Regions from separate parts of the Homo sapiens genome. Here regions 2, 3 and 4 are each linked to region 1. The links are contacts of gene promoters, found by promoter capture Hi-C in blood cells and fetal thymus (Javierre and others, 2016). All regions are on one chromosome and are shown on one strand. Each heading gives the region's core, a stretch centred on a gene start or on the middle of the fragment in contact. The rest is flanking DNA. Distances are from core to core; before and after follow the strand shown. Region 1 holds the start of DZIP3 (DAZ interacting zinc finger protein 3). Region 2 overlaps DUBR (DPPA2 upstream binding RNA). Region 3 overlaps LINC00882 (long intergenic non-protein coding RNA 882). Region 4 overlaps BBX (BBX high mobility group box domain containing).

Region 1 (3,299 bases), core at 556-3,055:
GACAACAGAGAGACGCCACGCCCAGGTAATTTTTGTATTTTTAGTAGAGACGGGGTTTCGCATGTTGGTCAGGCTGGTCTCAAACTCCCGACCTCAGGTGATCCGCTCGCCTCGGCCTCCCAAAGTGCTGGGATTACAGGTGTAAGCCCCTGTGCCTTAAATCTCTTTCAGTGCACAACCTTCCTGTTTATTCAAAGAAAGGTAATGCTTCAGAATAGCATACAAAATGCTTAACTCCCGATTTTTAAATTAAACGGACTGCCCTGCTTATTCTGCGGCTTCTGGAGCCTATGCTAATTCAGAAGCAAAGCCTTAAGCATTTAACAGCTAACACCTTAATTATTAGGTTTGCAGGCACTTCTTAAAATAAAGAATGAAAAAGAGAAAACAAATGTACTTAGGAGATGGGCACTTGAAGTAGGGAAAAGAGGAGCACCAGTGAAGCTCAAGATAAGACAGACACATTTAATACAACAGCAGCTTCACTAACAGCTGCTGTTGCTCTACTACTGGAAATCATTTTTTTCCTGTAATATTTTACAAATTTTTGGCACATTAGTCTTTTATCATAGGGTTAATATAATACAATATATTTTAAAATTATGTTCAATTCTACCTTAACAGAGGAAAGCTGTGACACAGAGAGTTAAAATAAGCCTTAATTGAGCTTTAAAAAAATTAAACTGAGGTCAATGTTAGTTTGAATTCCGTAAATGCAAAACAAATGAAAGCAGAAGATTAAGATCCTAAAACAAACGGAATCGTCTGGACACATATCACTAGAATAGAAAAAAAGGCAATTCAGCATTCTAAGATTAAAAAACTGTAAGCAATGTATTTTGGTAAAGAAAAAGGATTACGCTTACTAGGAAGGGGAAGTGCTTCTTAATGTTGAAATAATGTTTTTCAAGTTTGAGTTCAACCCGAGTTCAAGTAAGAGCAGTAAGCAACAAATTCAATTATAGATTACCGAAGGGCAAAACCAAGTTTTAATCATGACTTTCCGTCACTGAGAATAGTTGTGTATTGAGGGCTTGGTTTCGTAGAAAAACCAAAACTAGAAGCAAAGGAAAAGATAAAGTTCCGAGCTTTTTCCGTTACCTACTCGAAACAACCTGAACTTCCCAACCTTTTGCCCCACTCCCGCTTTTCCTAGAGCCTTCAGTGAGCGCTCTTGCCTCTCGCTGCGGCCAGCGGAACCCCGACACTCACTAGCCTTTACCAGTACGAAAAGACAACAGAGGGATCGAAGGACTGTCCTTTCTTTCCCAGGCTGGGGCCGCCACTCCTCGGCCTCACTGTGAAATAAGAATTGCTAGGGGAAGCCCCATCTGTCCTCTACCCCAGAGCCTCTCACCTCCAAGTGCCGCAAAAGCTGAGTGGCGTTCGCCTCTGACTTCACGGCTTTGTACTGACTGACAGTCAGGAGCAAGGACTTCAAGCAGGCAGTGGAGTCCATTGCACCGGCCGCGGCCCGGCTTAGGGACCACCACCGCCCAGCGTGCGCCGGCCTTTAGCTTTCGCCGCGCTTTTTTTGATTTTCGGCCCCACCCCCTCGCTCTCAGAAGCTTCCGGATCCGGTCGGGCTCCGGAAGTCCCTAGGCACCCTAGGGGACCGTTCTCGGTGACGGCCGGGGTGGGCCAGGGGTCGAGGTGATTTGTGGGTCCAGGACGGGGGTTGGGAGCTGCCCCCGCTAACCCACCCTCGTCTGAGAGGCCGCGAGGTTTCGGCCTGAGATCCCGTGAAGGCGAGAAATCTCGCGATTTCTCGGGAGAGGAATCGGTTAGGAGAAGGGGGATTCCTCACTCAGCTGTGCGCTCTGATTTCGTGCGCTTCCTCGTCCTTCATGTTGGATGGCCAGTTTTTCGTTTGTGCGTCATCCTCTACCTGAGAAATGGTCGCTTGCCCCTAGTCTAGACACGGTGAGGAGCTCTGAGGAGAAGAATCTTGGGCCCTAGATTTTGAGGCGGCCTGGGAGGGGCCTCGTTTTTAAATCTCTCCTACACCCGCCCCTTCTGCCCGGGGATGGTAGTTTCTCAGAGTCAACCTATTGGCATTATGTGGCAAATTAGTCATGCCCTGACCAAAGTATTTGTCACATTTATTCGAGAAGACTACCTCCTGCTGACCCTGGGCCAGGTATTGCTCCGGAGGGTGTTACTCGTTAGCGTCAGTTTTTGTAAGTGAAGGTGTCTGTTTCTCTCTGGCATGATTGATTGTTTTATAATTCTCGATGTCTACGAAAATGGCACTATTATTTGCGTTTTTTAAATCGGAGATAGCTTAATATTATTGCATGTGTATGTAATGAAGCGAGTCAGTTACTGGTTTTGGAGCTTTTTGCTTAATATTTCCTAACGTCGAATAAAGCTTTAAAAACCAGGATGTAGAAATTGTAAGAATAGGGTACATTTCCATTTAATTAAATCGTTTATCAGAAATCATGTTTTTTCACTTCAAAAGAATTTTTTTGAATTACTAGATTTTTGAAGACAGGTTTGGTGTTTTGGTTTTGTTTTTTATAAAAGTTTAAATCTGAAAGATAAAAATGATTTAACCAGTTGGGACATTCATGTAAAAATCTTTGGGTAGCTTGTGTGTTCATTTATGCTTTCATTCATTCCGTAAACAATTATAGAGCGTGTAACATGGGTTAGAAACTGCCAGTCAGGGAACAGAGATGAAGTAGTATCCCCTGCTGCGAGGGAACTGTCTAGTAAGGGAAACATACAAAATAGTACTTTTGAAATTCACCACATAAATGAGAGGCACCATGCAGTAACATGCAGCAGTGGTAAAGAGTAGAGAGCCAGGTTGCTTACAGATTCTAGCTCCACCTTTGACGATGTGACTCTAGGCAAGTTCTCACTGCTGCAGAATCTTCATTAGGTAAAATCTGGCCAAGGGAGATACCTGGTTCATAGGACTGTTCATTCAATAAGTAGTTCATTGAGAATCTACAATGTGCTAAGCACTTTTCTAGACACAATAGACTCAGTGAAAAAAACAAAAATACTACTGGCATGCAACTTACATTTTGGTAGGGAACCAAATAATAAACACAATAAATAAGTAAGGAAAATGATATAAAGAGAAAAATAGACGTTATTACTCTAGAATAATGTTGGTAATTGATAAGGGAAATGGGAAGGTGACCTCATTAAGAAAGCAACATTTGGGGAAATGCTTCAAGGAGTTGAGAAAGGGAGCCATATTCTATGGGAAAAGGTTTTTAGATAGAGGAAATGGCAAAGAAAGACCCTAAAGTGGGATACTGTATGCCAGAAACAAGGATGCC
Region 2 (3,388 bases), core at 690-3,189, 1.3 Mb before region 1:
CCCTCCCCCCCACCTTTTTTTTTTTTTAGATGGAGTCTCACTCTCTCGCCCAGACTGGAGTGCAGTGAAGCAATCTCAGCTCACTGCAACCTCCACCCTCCCGGGTTCAAGTAATTCTCCTGCTTCAGCCTCCTGAGTAGCTAGGATTACAGGCATGCACCATCATACCTGGCTGTAGCCCTTATTTTAAATTCAATGTACTGTAATGATTTACTTGGTTTATTGTCTTAACTTTCTGTTCCACTGGAATACAGGTTCAATAAGGAGGGATTTTAATCAATTTTGTTCTCTGAAGTGTCTTCAGAACCAAATGAGTAAAAAATTATCATTGTTGACGTTTTCACTTCGTGCTAGCATATGGGCAATCTCAATTTATTTCTAATAACTCCCTGTATCTTTCAGAGCATTCCTTCATGAATGAAGAAAGCCCTGATAGTGTTCCAGTAATTTATGTTTTTTATGTTTGAATTTCTTAACAAAAAGAATTATACCACTAAAAGATCCAGCTTTTTTGTTTGTTTTACTTTTTGAAAAAAAATTTATATTGTTAATAGAGACAGGGTCTCACCATGTTGCCCAGGCTGGTCTCGAACTCCCGGACTCAAGTGATCCACCCTCCACAGCCTCCCAAAGTGCTGGGAGTACAGGTGTGAGCCACTACACCCAGCCAAGATCCAGCTTTTTTACCAGGGAAAATAAGAAATTTAATATGCTTGTTTCCAAAGCAACAAAAGCTTTACATGATTAAGTAGACTGAGGGCTCTTCCATATTAGACGAAAATATCCAGCCAAATTGCTGAGGACTCCCTCAGACAGGAAAAAAAATGTTTAGAGCCATCCTCACAAAGAAATTTTCCTGTTTAATTATAACCTAATTATGACAACTTTTTTTTCTTTAGGTGGTCAGGCTCAGGATGGACCATGAGCTTTCAAAAAGGAAAAAGGTGGAAATCCTCAACTATGCTGCCATCTGAATAAGTGTTTCTTTGTAGATGCACAGAGTCAAGGAAAATTACATCCCTGCATTATGTAATGTACCAACAACGCACTTACCCACTGTTTTAATCTAGGTTATTCTTGAAAGCAGAGCCTGAGACAAAGGTAGACACATTCTATTTATGAGTCTAACACCCAGGAGCAGGAATGAGAGATAGGGGAGTGAACTGGGGAAAAGGGAAACTAAGTCCGAGCAAAACCAGATACTGCTCTTATCAAGTGGTCCACCCCTATTAATGGCTACATAATGCAGAACTTTCTCAGGATTCTTCTTAAACTTTATCTCAGAACTGTCTGCCTCAGGGAGAAAGGAGAAGTATTTCTCCATCAGCAGCCACCTCCTGTGTGTTGAGGGCTGCTCCTTTGGGGCATTAACCCACTGCCTCCACCACCCCAACCCTCTGGGCTGCAAAGAGCTAGCTGACAGTCCAGCTGGTACCTTAGCATCACACATTGCTGCATCAGAGAGGTCTTAAGACAGGAAGCTAGAGTCTTGGTGCATGCTCGAAGTGAGACGGTGTCAGCACAGAGCAGGGTAAAATCTTCCCGTTAACTCTTCACCAGAGCTATGACTGGAATCAGAGGTTGAAAAGATGTGAGACTGTACCCAAGAAGCATCTTATAAGCCTACGTAATATACTGTTAGACTCATCGAAATCTATTTCCTCCCTTCTTTATAATCAAAACTTCAGTGTCCAGAATAAAGTTGGCAGAAGGGTTAAATTGGAAAGTTAAATGTACTAGAAGGTGTACATTTATAAGTTTTGACCTTGAGTCGTGTTCAAGGAGAAAGTGACATTGGAACTTGGAAAATTTAAAAATGATTCTACTTGAAAAATTTGACCATTGCATAGAAATATTAGCTATCGTCTAATCTTTTGTAATCTTAGAAACAATCGTGAATTGTTTGGTGAAAAATGAAAAAATAACCATTTCTTATGTCTCCGTGACCTTTATAGACCAATGTCACCAACTTTTCCTAAGGTAATTGTTTCCTACTGTCAAATAGCTCTAGTGATATAAATCTTAACAATCAATGAAGGGAAAACTGGTGGAAACATAGGAGGAAAAATACTGGGATAATTTTCATCACAAAGTATTGGCATTAACATTGGTTAGAATAGGGGAGAAACTGCATGACTTGACAACTGGACATTCCTGTATGTTGTATGAGGCCCTGTCTTAACAGAAATAGTGATGTCATCATCATCCTCTCTTATTTGGTCTTGAATTGCCACCAATCGGATAAAACCTTTGAATTATTTAACTCAATATATGTTAAGTTTCTACTATGTGCTGTGTATTGGTACTATAAATATGAATAAGACATAAGATATTACATTCAAAAACATCAGAATACATGTTCTTTTAAAGTATACCCCAAAACATTTACCATGTGTTCTGGGGCGCATGTTAGGCTGGATCACAAATCAAGTCTCAAGAATTTCAAAAGATTGAAATCATATAGAGTATGAATTAAACCAGAAATCAAGTACATAAAGGTAACAAAAAATTTCCAAAATGCATTAATTTAAGGAACATACACCTCATGACCCATGAGCCAAAAAATAAATCACGGCAAAATTGCAAAAATATTTTGAAATGAATTTTAAAGAAAATACTTAGCATATTAAATACTTAGCATATTAAAGCTCTAAGTACATATGTTAGAAATTTTACCGAAAGGTTGGCTATCAGTGTTTCCAGAAGCCAGGGAAAAAGTTTATACAATTTGATCGCTGAGGCAGGGAAACAAAGTGAGACCTCCGATCGCCCTGCCTTTCTGAGGTGAGCACTCTGGATCCCATCGCAGGAGATCAGAGTCTTGCTGAGTTGAGGAGAGGAAGATTGGAGTTGATACTGAGATAGCTTGAATTTTCAGGACAAAGTATCAACAAGGAGGAAGGTAGACAAAAAAATCCAGAAATCTATGTAGAGACCCCATTGTGTACATTGCGGAACACTAAGCCTAACAATTCTCAAAATTAGCGTGAGATTGGGAAATATCTAATTTCCATCCAGCCACAGTGGAGAGTCCTGACTGAAAACCAGGCATTCGCTAAAGATCCCAGAAAGGTTGTGTGTTACATACGTAGGGCTAAACTATCCTGACTAAAAACTACACTACACTTGCTCCTCACCCCCACAAAAAGCTTAAAAACAAGCCTCAATAGTATAAAGCTGATCTGTAAGTAACTAAACTACCTGCAGAACAAAGTCCAAATTTATTAGTTCCAGTACTCCAAAAAAAACACATGTAAAAAAAAAATAGATTTACAAGACATTTATTTGGGGAAAAAAAGAATGCCTGAGGGTTGAAATGGAGAGGAAGCCAGAGAGACAGAGTCCTCAGAATACATAAAATTTCTGGCCTCCATGGAGGTGTGATGGT
Region 3 (3,161 bases), core at 424-2,923, 1.4 Mb before region 1:
ACCCTATTCTATTGGTCAAAACAGTCACTGGGTCTGCCCGGATGCACAGGTAGAGAAACAGATACTACCTATTGATAAGGCTGTGAGAAGATCTCATTACAAAGAGCAAGTGGTATGAGAGACATTGCTGCAGCCATCTTTGAAAAAATACATTCTTCTACATCTTCCCTTATAAACTATCCTTCACTTTATCCATGGAACACTGCTGTGATATCCTCATTAATATCCTCATCTCTAAACTTCATTTTCAGCTCAGCATGCTATAGCATACCTCCACCAGACCTTCCTGTTATTATCTCATTAGCACCCTTACTTAAAGTTTCTAGTGGCCCCCGACTTATAAATAAAACCCACACTCTTCCACCTTCATTTAAAGTGTTTCATAATTTGGTCCATCTCACCTGTTATGGATTGAATTGTTTCCGCTAAAAGATATGTTCAAGGCATAACTCCTGGCTATGGTTTGAAAGTTTCTCCACCAAAATTCAAGTGCTGCCAATGTGATAGTATTAAGAGGTATTGCCTCTAAAAGGTGATTAGGCATGAGAGCTCCTCCCTTGTGAATGAGATTAGTTGCTCTTATAAAAGGGCTTGATGGAGAGAGTTCATCCTTTTTTGCCATTTTGTCTTCTGCTGTGTGAAGACACAGCATTCATCCTCTCTAGAGGATGCAGCATTCCAGGCGCCATCTTGGAGGCAGAGACTGGACCATCACTGGACAATAAACCCGCTGGTGCCTTGATCTTGGACTTCACAGCCTCTAGAACTATGAGAAATAAATTTCTGGTCTTTATGAATTACTGAGTCTATGGTATTTTGTTATGGCAGCACAAACAGACTAAATTACCCAGACCTGTAAATGTGAGCTTCTTTGGAAATGTGGTTTTTGCAGATGTCATCAAGTAAAAGTGAGGTCACACTGGATTAAGTCAGGCCCTAATCTCATGACTAGTGTCTTTATTGAAAAAAAAAAAAAAGAGAGATAGAGAGAGAGAGATTTGGACACAGAGATACAGAGGAGACACAGGAAGGAAGGTCATGTGAAGACAATGGCAGAGATTGGAGGGATGCATATAAAAGCCAAAGAATGCCAATGATTGCCAAGAGACAAAGATAGAAAGAGACAAAGGAAGATTCTTCTCCAGAGCCTTGATAGGTAGCATGGATGGCCAGGTCAAAACCTTGATTTCAAACTTCTGGCCTCCTGACTATGGAAGAGCAAATTTCTTTGCTCTTCTTTGTTTTCAGCCACAAAGTTTGTGGTAATTTGGCATAGCAGCCCTAGGAAACTAACATACCATCTATCCAGGTCTACCTCTCCCACGGCTTCCAAACATTCACCCTTCATACAGACAGAGGTCTCTTCCCTGTCTCCATCTTCCAATTCATTACCACACCTGTTTGTCCTTTCCTTCTTCTATAAGTAGCAAAGCATAGCAGTGTGCACAGCTATAAATTGTCTCTGAGTTAGAACTGTCTTCTTCTACTGTTCTGGTGGGCAGGGCACTTGTCCCAAGTGCTGAGTCAGAGTACACTTGGTACAGAGGCATTTCATGCATTTGTTAACTAAAATAAAAAGTGAATAGATATTAAGGTTTTTTAGTAAGTGCTTAGAGTTATAAATAGAATTACCTATCACATTGTTTATTGAAAACAATTGTTTAGGTGACACAGCAATTTATAGAAAACAGATCTGCAAAGCTATAGAAGTCCTTCCTTAGCTATCTACCACCTACCTGTCGTAAATTATATAAATTACAGTGGCTTTAATTAACTGGACCAAAAATGACTTCCAAATAGTAATTCAATAACCTAGACCTCTAGCAAGGTTGCCCCCATTATTATCATTTTGATGGTTGGAACAGTATATGAAAAGCTCCTTAAGGAATTAGAGAGATCATCTATATTCTTTTTAAATAACAATAGGGATTAGACAGTTTATAGTACATATTGGTCACACAGTTATGAGTATAAATCATGCCACAGATTTGAAAGACAGTATCTGATATGCGAAAGAAATTGTTCTGTGATGGCTGATCTACAGCTGGAGCCTGGACACCCTGGTTATGTGTATGTTCCACATCTTAGCAGACAACCTGGAAGGCATTCAGAGGAGTGAGCAAAATGGTGAAGAGGCTTGAGGAACAGCAGAGTAATGCAGTGATGTTTCAGTTGAAGAACAGATGTCTCAGAAGAAATTCAATTTCGTTCATGTATAAGAAATATTTTTCTAAAAAATAATTATGCTTACTTCTTTGTACCCTAAATAGAAAAGCTAAGCCAATAAATGAAAGATAAAGATAAATTTTGAATTGTCATAAGATTCCTAAAAATAAGGTTAGTAATTGTGAATTGTCCCTGGAAATGTTCACGCAAAGGTCTGTAACTTCTCAACAAGAATATCTCATTTATCTTTGTAGTCCTCATGCATAGCACAGTTCCAACATATAATAACTGATCAATATACATCTGATAAATAAAGTGAAATTCAAGTAACTGATGGTAGTTTGGATTAAATGTTTCCTTACAAACCTAGGATTCCCATATTTTAGGATTCCAAAATAAGCTCAACTATGAGTCACTAATTTTTCCTTTCAATGTGTCACATAGTCATAATTTCCTTTATACTGGATGTGTACTCCTCAGGAAATTAAAGAAGGATCCCAAACATCTTATTGGGAACATTTTAGGTAGTACCATGCAGTAATTAAGTGCAAAATATGAAACACTTAAGAAACTTCAAAGGCACATATTTACACATATACTATTAATCTAAAATTTCCCTCATTCAAGGCAAAAATGGGCCGCAATTTACCAAATCTGTATCACAGACATTATGCTTAGTGCTTTAATATTCATTCAAAAGTATTTATTGAACACTGACTGTGTGCCACACACATGTAATATTTATAACCAATTTAGCAAGGTAGGTATTAATATCTCCATATGAAAGCCAAAGGAGTTATGTAACTTGTCCAAGTTCAGGCACCGCAAGTCCATATACAGCCTTTGTACAAATTTAAAAAAAAACAGCTGGGTGCAACGGCTCACGCCTGTAATCCCAGCACTTTGGGAGGCCAAGGCAGGTGGATCACGAGGTCAGGAAATAGAGACCATCCTGGACAACATGGTAAAACCCTGTCTCTACTAAAAATACAAAA
Region 4 (3,529 bases), core at 989-3,488, 1.0 Mb before region 1:
TTTGCTGTTGTTCTTGTGGTTCTCCTACCTAAGCAATTCAAGTTTTCAGAACTAATTTGTTTGACTAGTCAATGTTCTCTCTTAAACAGCTTAGTGGCAAAATTCCTGCCATTGCTCTGTTGTAAAGAATCAGCTCTTCTTTAAGATAAACAGTATCTAGAAGCATGGCCAGGTGCATTCACTGCACTGTAAGAGGGAGACATGGGGGGAGTAGTCAGGAAGCATGTAGGTGGGAAGGGTTTCCTGTTTCCAGGCAACAGCAAGGAGCTACAGACGGAAAGCAACTTGAATATAAATTCATTCAAGAAAGGACATTTTACCACCTTGCCTTCTAAGCAGTGAGGACGCAGACTTGACTGAAAGATAGAGTGAGGTTGAAGCTTCATTTGTCAGTGGGTAAAGTTATTAGAAACCTATTTCTCATTAGGTTTTGTATGTATGAAAAATATCACATACTAGTGGCCAGGTTAGCATTTTTAAATATTTGAAAAATAGTAGCATCTACGCTTGCCTTCCTTCCAATTTTCCAGAAACATGGGTTTTTTTATGGCTTCATTTTCCTGTCTTTCTGCCTAAAGAGCAGAGGGGCTCGTGGCCCTGAAACAGGCTCCTTCCCTGCCTGACTCCATCTGCAGGAAGGAGAAGCACAGCACACTCAGCTCAAAGGGAGGTGCCTCCTCCCTTGAAGAAGCCCATCCAGAGGTTCACAGGGAGCAGATGAGAGAAGAGTTCTTCCTGCTCCCTGGGCCAAGGGGAATGTGGACCTGTCCCCTGCTTGTGACATTTTCCCCAACCTGTCAAATGCAAGAGTAGCAAATTTGGAAGAGTAGAAGAAGGCAGTTGCAGGCGGCAGCTACCTGATTGGGGTGAGTTATTCTTGAGGCATTTGAGATATTGAGTTGATGATTTAAATATTGGCCCACTAAAGATTTTATAAGTAATGTAGTCATTCCTTGGGCCCTGAGGGACCCTCTTGTTCTATATTCCAGCTCTTTCGTAATGAGAGGGATTACCCATACTCAGAAGAGATGCATGTCTCAAACGCCTGCATTATTTTTTCTCACTTTCACATTGTGTTTCCTCTAGTTGTTGAGGTGAGCTCCTTTTAAGATAGGCTTTATTGTTTTATTATACTGCTTATATTTAGGAGTTTTTCTTCAAAATCTATGTCAGAAGATAGGTCTCGTAAAGGGCGAGTAAGCACTTGGGCGAATCATGCACTGGAATTTATCTTTTGATTAAGTTTGAGAGTGTGCCTGGAACAGTTGGGTCTTTCATCTCTCAGTCTGGAGCCTCCTTTAGTAACTTGTCCTGAGACTATAGGCAACCCACTAGCTAGTTATAGGGCCACCAAAAGAGCTGCCCAGACACTTAAGCAAACACACAGGGTCCAAGCTTCATACTGGATCCCTTCTTGCCATGTATTCGGGGATGAATCACTGCTTGAAGGGTCTAATCTGTCTCCTTATTGTCCTGTCTGGAAGGGTCACATTATTTGAGTGTAACTCCTGAGAGCCTGGCGGGTCTTTTCACACAGATGTTGATGGATGCTTTGCAGTCCCTCCCATCCCAGCAGATTTCTTTGTGCCTCTTTTTACATAGGCACTTAACCTATGTTGAGGGAGCCTCTTTTATTACCAGAAAGAAGACGTTAAAGGAGTTTAATCCTCACTGTTGGTAATAGTTTGTTCTTCCCCAGTTTGCATACTCGGGTTTTAGTTGGATATCGAGCTGCCTCTTTTTTACCATATCGGTCTTCATTCTATTATTTGTGTTCTTAAATGTCTTGTGGGAACATTAGAAAGGTACCTATGATGGTTGAATATCTTTAGTTTTACTATCATTTTCTATAGAATTTTAAAATCTAGTTTTAAGAACACAAGTTGGCAAGCTCTGGAGTATTTTTTGTTAATTATATAAATTATATATTTATGGCGGTGGATTTTTTTTCCCTACGTAACTTTGGATTGTACTTGAGAAGCTCATTGCAAATCAGCACAGCAGATTTTAAAAAGCCAATAATCTTTTATGTAAAATTTGACTTACTTATGGCATTATATATGCAGTTAATTGGGTCTAGTTCATTTTAATCACTTGACATCAGTTATAGAGTCCAATTTCAGACATAGGAAATTATGAAACATTAATGTAATACAAAATAGGCTCTTTATCATGCTTTTTTCATGAAAAAATAGTTTCACTTACTAGGAGTTTATGTTGGCTATTTGATTTTTAATCTTGTTTCTCTTGTGTGAGCTTTTGGACAGAATATGAATTTTAAATCCACAGGTTTTTTTTGTTGTGATTTTTAAAAATTATTTTCACTATCCTCCAACATTGTTATTCAGTATTATTATACAAGCACATTCATGTGATAATATATACTAACAATTTGTTTTATTTTACTGAAGATTCCAAAACAAAATTTCTATTAGTAAAGAACATTGTCTTTTGATGTAATTATAGTAAATTTTAGTTTAATCTTAATATTTAAATATTTACCAAAATATATGACTCATATGTAGGTAAGTTATCAGGGGAAAACATCCTATGATTTTAAAACTGTTAAGCACTCAATTTTTTTTTTTAATTGAGACAGAGTTTTGCTCTTTTTTGCCCAAGCTGGAGTGCAGTGGCACGATCTTGGCTCACTGCAACCTCCGCCTCCTGGGTTCAAGTGATTCTCTTGCCTTAGCCTCCCCAGTAGCTGGGATTACAGGCATGCACCACCATGCCTGGCTAATTTTGTATTTTTAGTAGAGATGAGGTTTCACCATGTTGGCCAGGCTGGTCTCAAACTCCTGACCTCAGGTGATCCGCCCGCCTCGGCCTCCTAAAGTGCTGGCATTGTAGGCGTGAGCCGTCACACCCAGCACAGTCAATATTTTTAATAAGAGATAATAAACTTCATGATTTTAGTCAGTCTTCTGTAACTATGCAAACAAATGTTAAAATATGGAAGACCTAAAATCTACCTAATATCTGGTCTGAGTGTAATCTTTAAATTGTTATTCATAAATGAATTCTTGAATGAGTTTTGCTTAAAGACAATCTTGTATTTAACTAGGAGCAAATTTAAACCAAGCTTTTAATTTTTCATATCCAAGCTGATGATTTTGCCTTAAAATGTCTTTGATCATATTTTTACTTACTAAACATCTGTAAAATAGTTACATTCATTATTATACACTTATATATATATTATTATTACACACTTGTTGGCAGTGTAGGGTGGATAAAAGAGAAATTTAAGACGTTTTCCCTGTGTCCTAGGAAGGAAATGGCCTTTTCCCATCTCCTTTGAATCTCTTTTGGTTATGCAGGCCAGTCTCTTTTATGATTCTTAAACTTGGAAATTCCCCTTCTGTGATCTTTCATTTGTGTCATGTTCCTACCAGGTTTGAAGTGAAGAGACTATATTTTCTTCTAGGGGCTTAGCAGTACTTTGCATATACTAGATAGCTAAAAATTGTGGAATTAAGCATAGATTTTTAAAAACTAGCTTTGATAATATAAGTATATGCCAAAT

The links. The method cuts DNA at HindIII sites, captures the fragments that hold promoters and counts their contacts. A CHiCAGO score of 5 or more calls a contact.
Region 2: a fragment that was not itself captured here is called in contact with the fragment with the promoter of DZIP3 in region 1 in 1 of 17 cell types (M2 macrophages); the score reaches 5.1 in M2 macrophages.
Region 3: a contact is called between a fragment that was not itself captured here and the fragment with the promoter of DZIP3 in region 1, in 1 of 17 cell types (M2 macrophages). The highest score is 5.2, in M2 macrophages.
Region 4: a contact is called between a fragment that was not itself captured here and the fragment with the promoter of DZIP3 in region 1, in 1 of 17 cell types (M2 macrophages). The highest score is 5.7, in M2 macrophages.

Annotation. Positions count from the first base shown.
Region 1 is chr3:108,587,917-108,591,215 of GRCh38, forward strand. DZIP3 (DAZ interacting zinc finger protein 3) reads left to right here and starts at 1,806. Exons shown (of 33, transcript NM_014648.4): 1 at 1,806-1,923. It overlaps CIP2A (cellular inhibitor of PP2A), which reads right to left and starts at 1,522. Exons shown (of 21, transcript NM_020890.3): 1 at 1,358-1,522. The coding sequence starts at 1,459. RefSeq lists an enhancer at 1,721-2,000. The HindIII fragment of the contact is 803 bases long and covers 1,567-2,369 here.
Region 2 is chr3:107,245,109-107,248,496 of GRCh38, forward strand. The region is part of intron 1 of DUBR (DPPA2 upstream binding RNA); the gene reads left to right. Among named protein-coding and RNA genes, the nearest start is that of DUBR, 6.1 kb to the left of the region's middle. The HindIII fragment of the contact is 2,415 bases long and covers 733-3,147 here.
Region 3 is chr3:107,225,794-107,228,954 of GRCh38, forward strand. All of the region lies in intron 1 of LINC00882 (long intergenic non-protein coding RNA 882), which reads right to left. The region is part of intron 1 of LOC124909404 (a long non-coding RNA gene); the gene reads left to right. Among named protein-coding and RNA genes, the nearest start is that of LINC00882, 13 kb to the right of the region's middle. The HindIII fragment of the contact is 5,421 bases long and covers 1-3,161 here.
Region 4 is chr3:107,578,056-107,581,584 of GRCh38, forward strand. All of the region lies in intron 2 of BBX (BBX high mobility group box domain containing), which reads left to right. Among named protein-coding and RNA genes, the nearest start is that of BBX, 57 kb to the left of the region's middle. The HindIII fragment of the contact is 1,690 bases long and covers 1,394-3,083 here.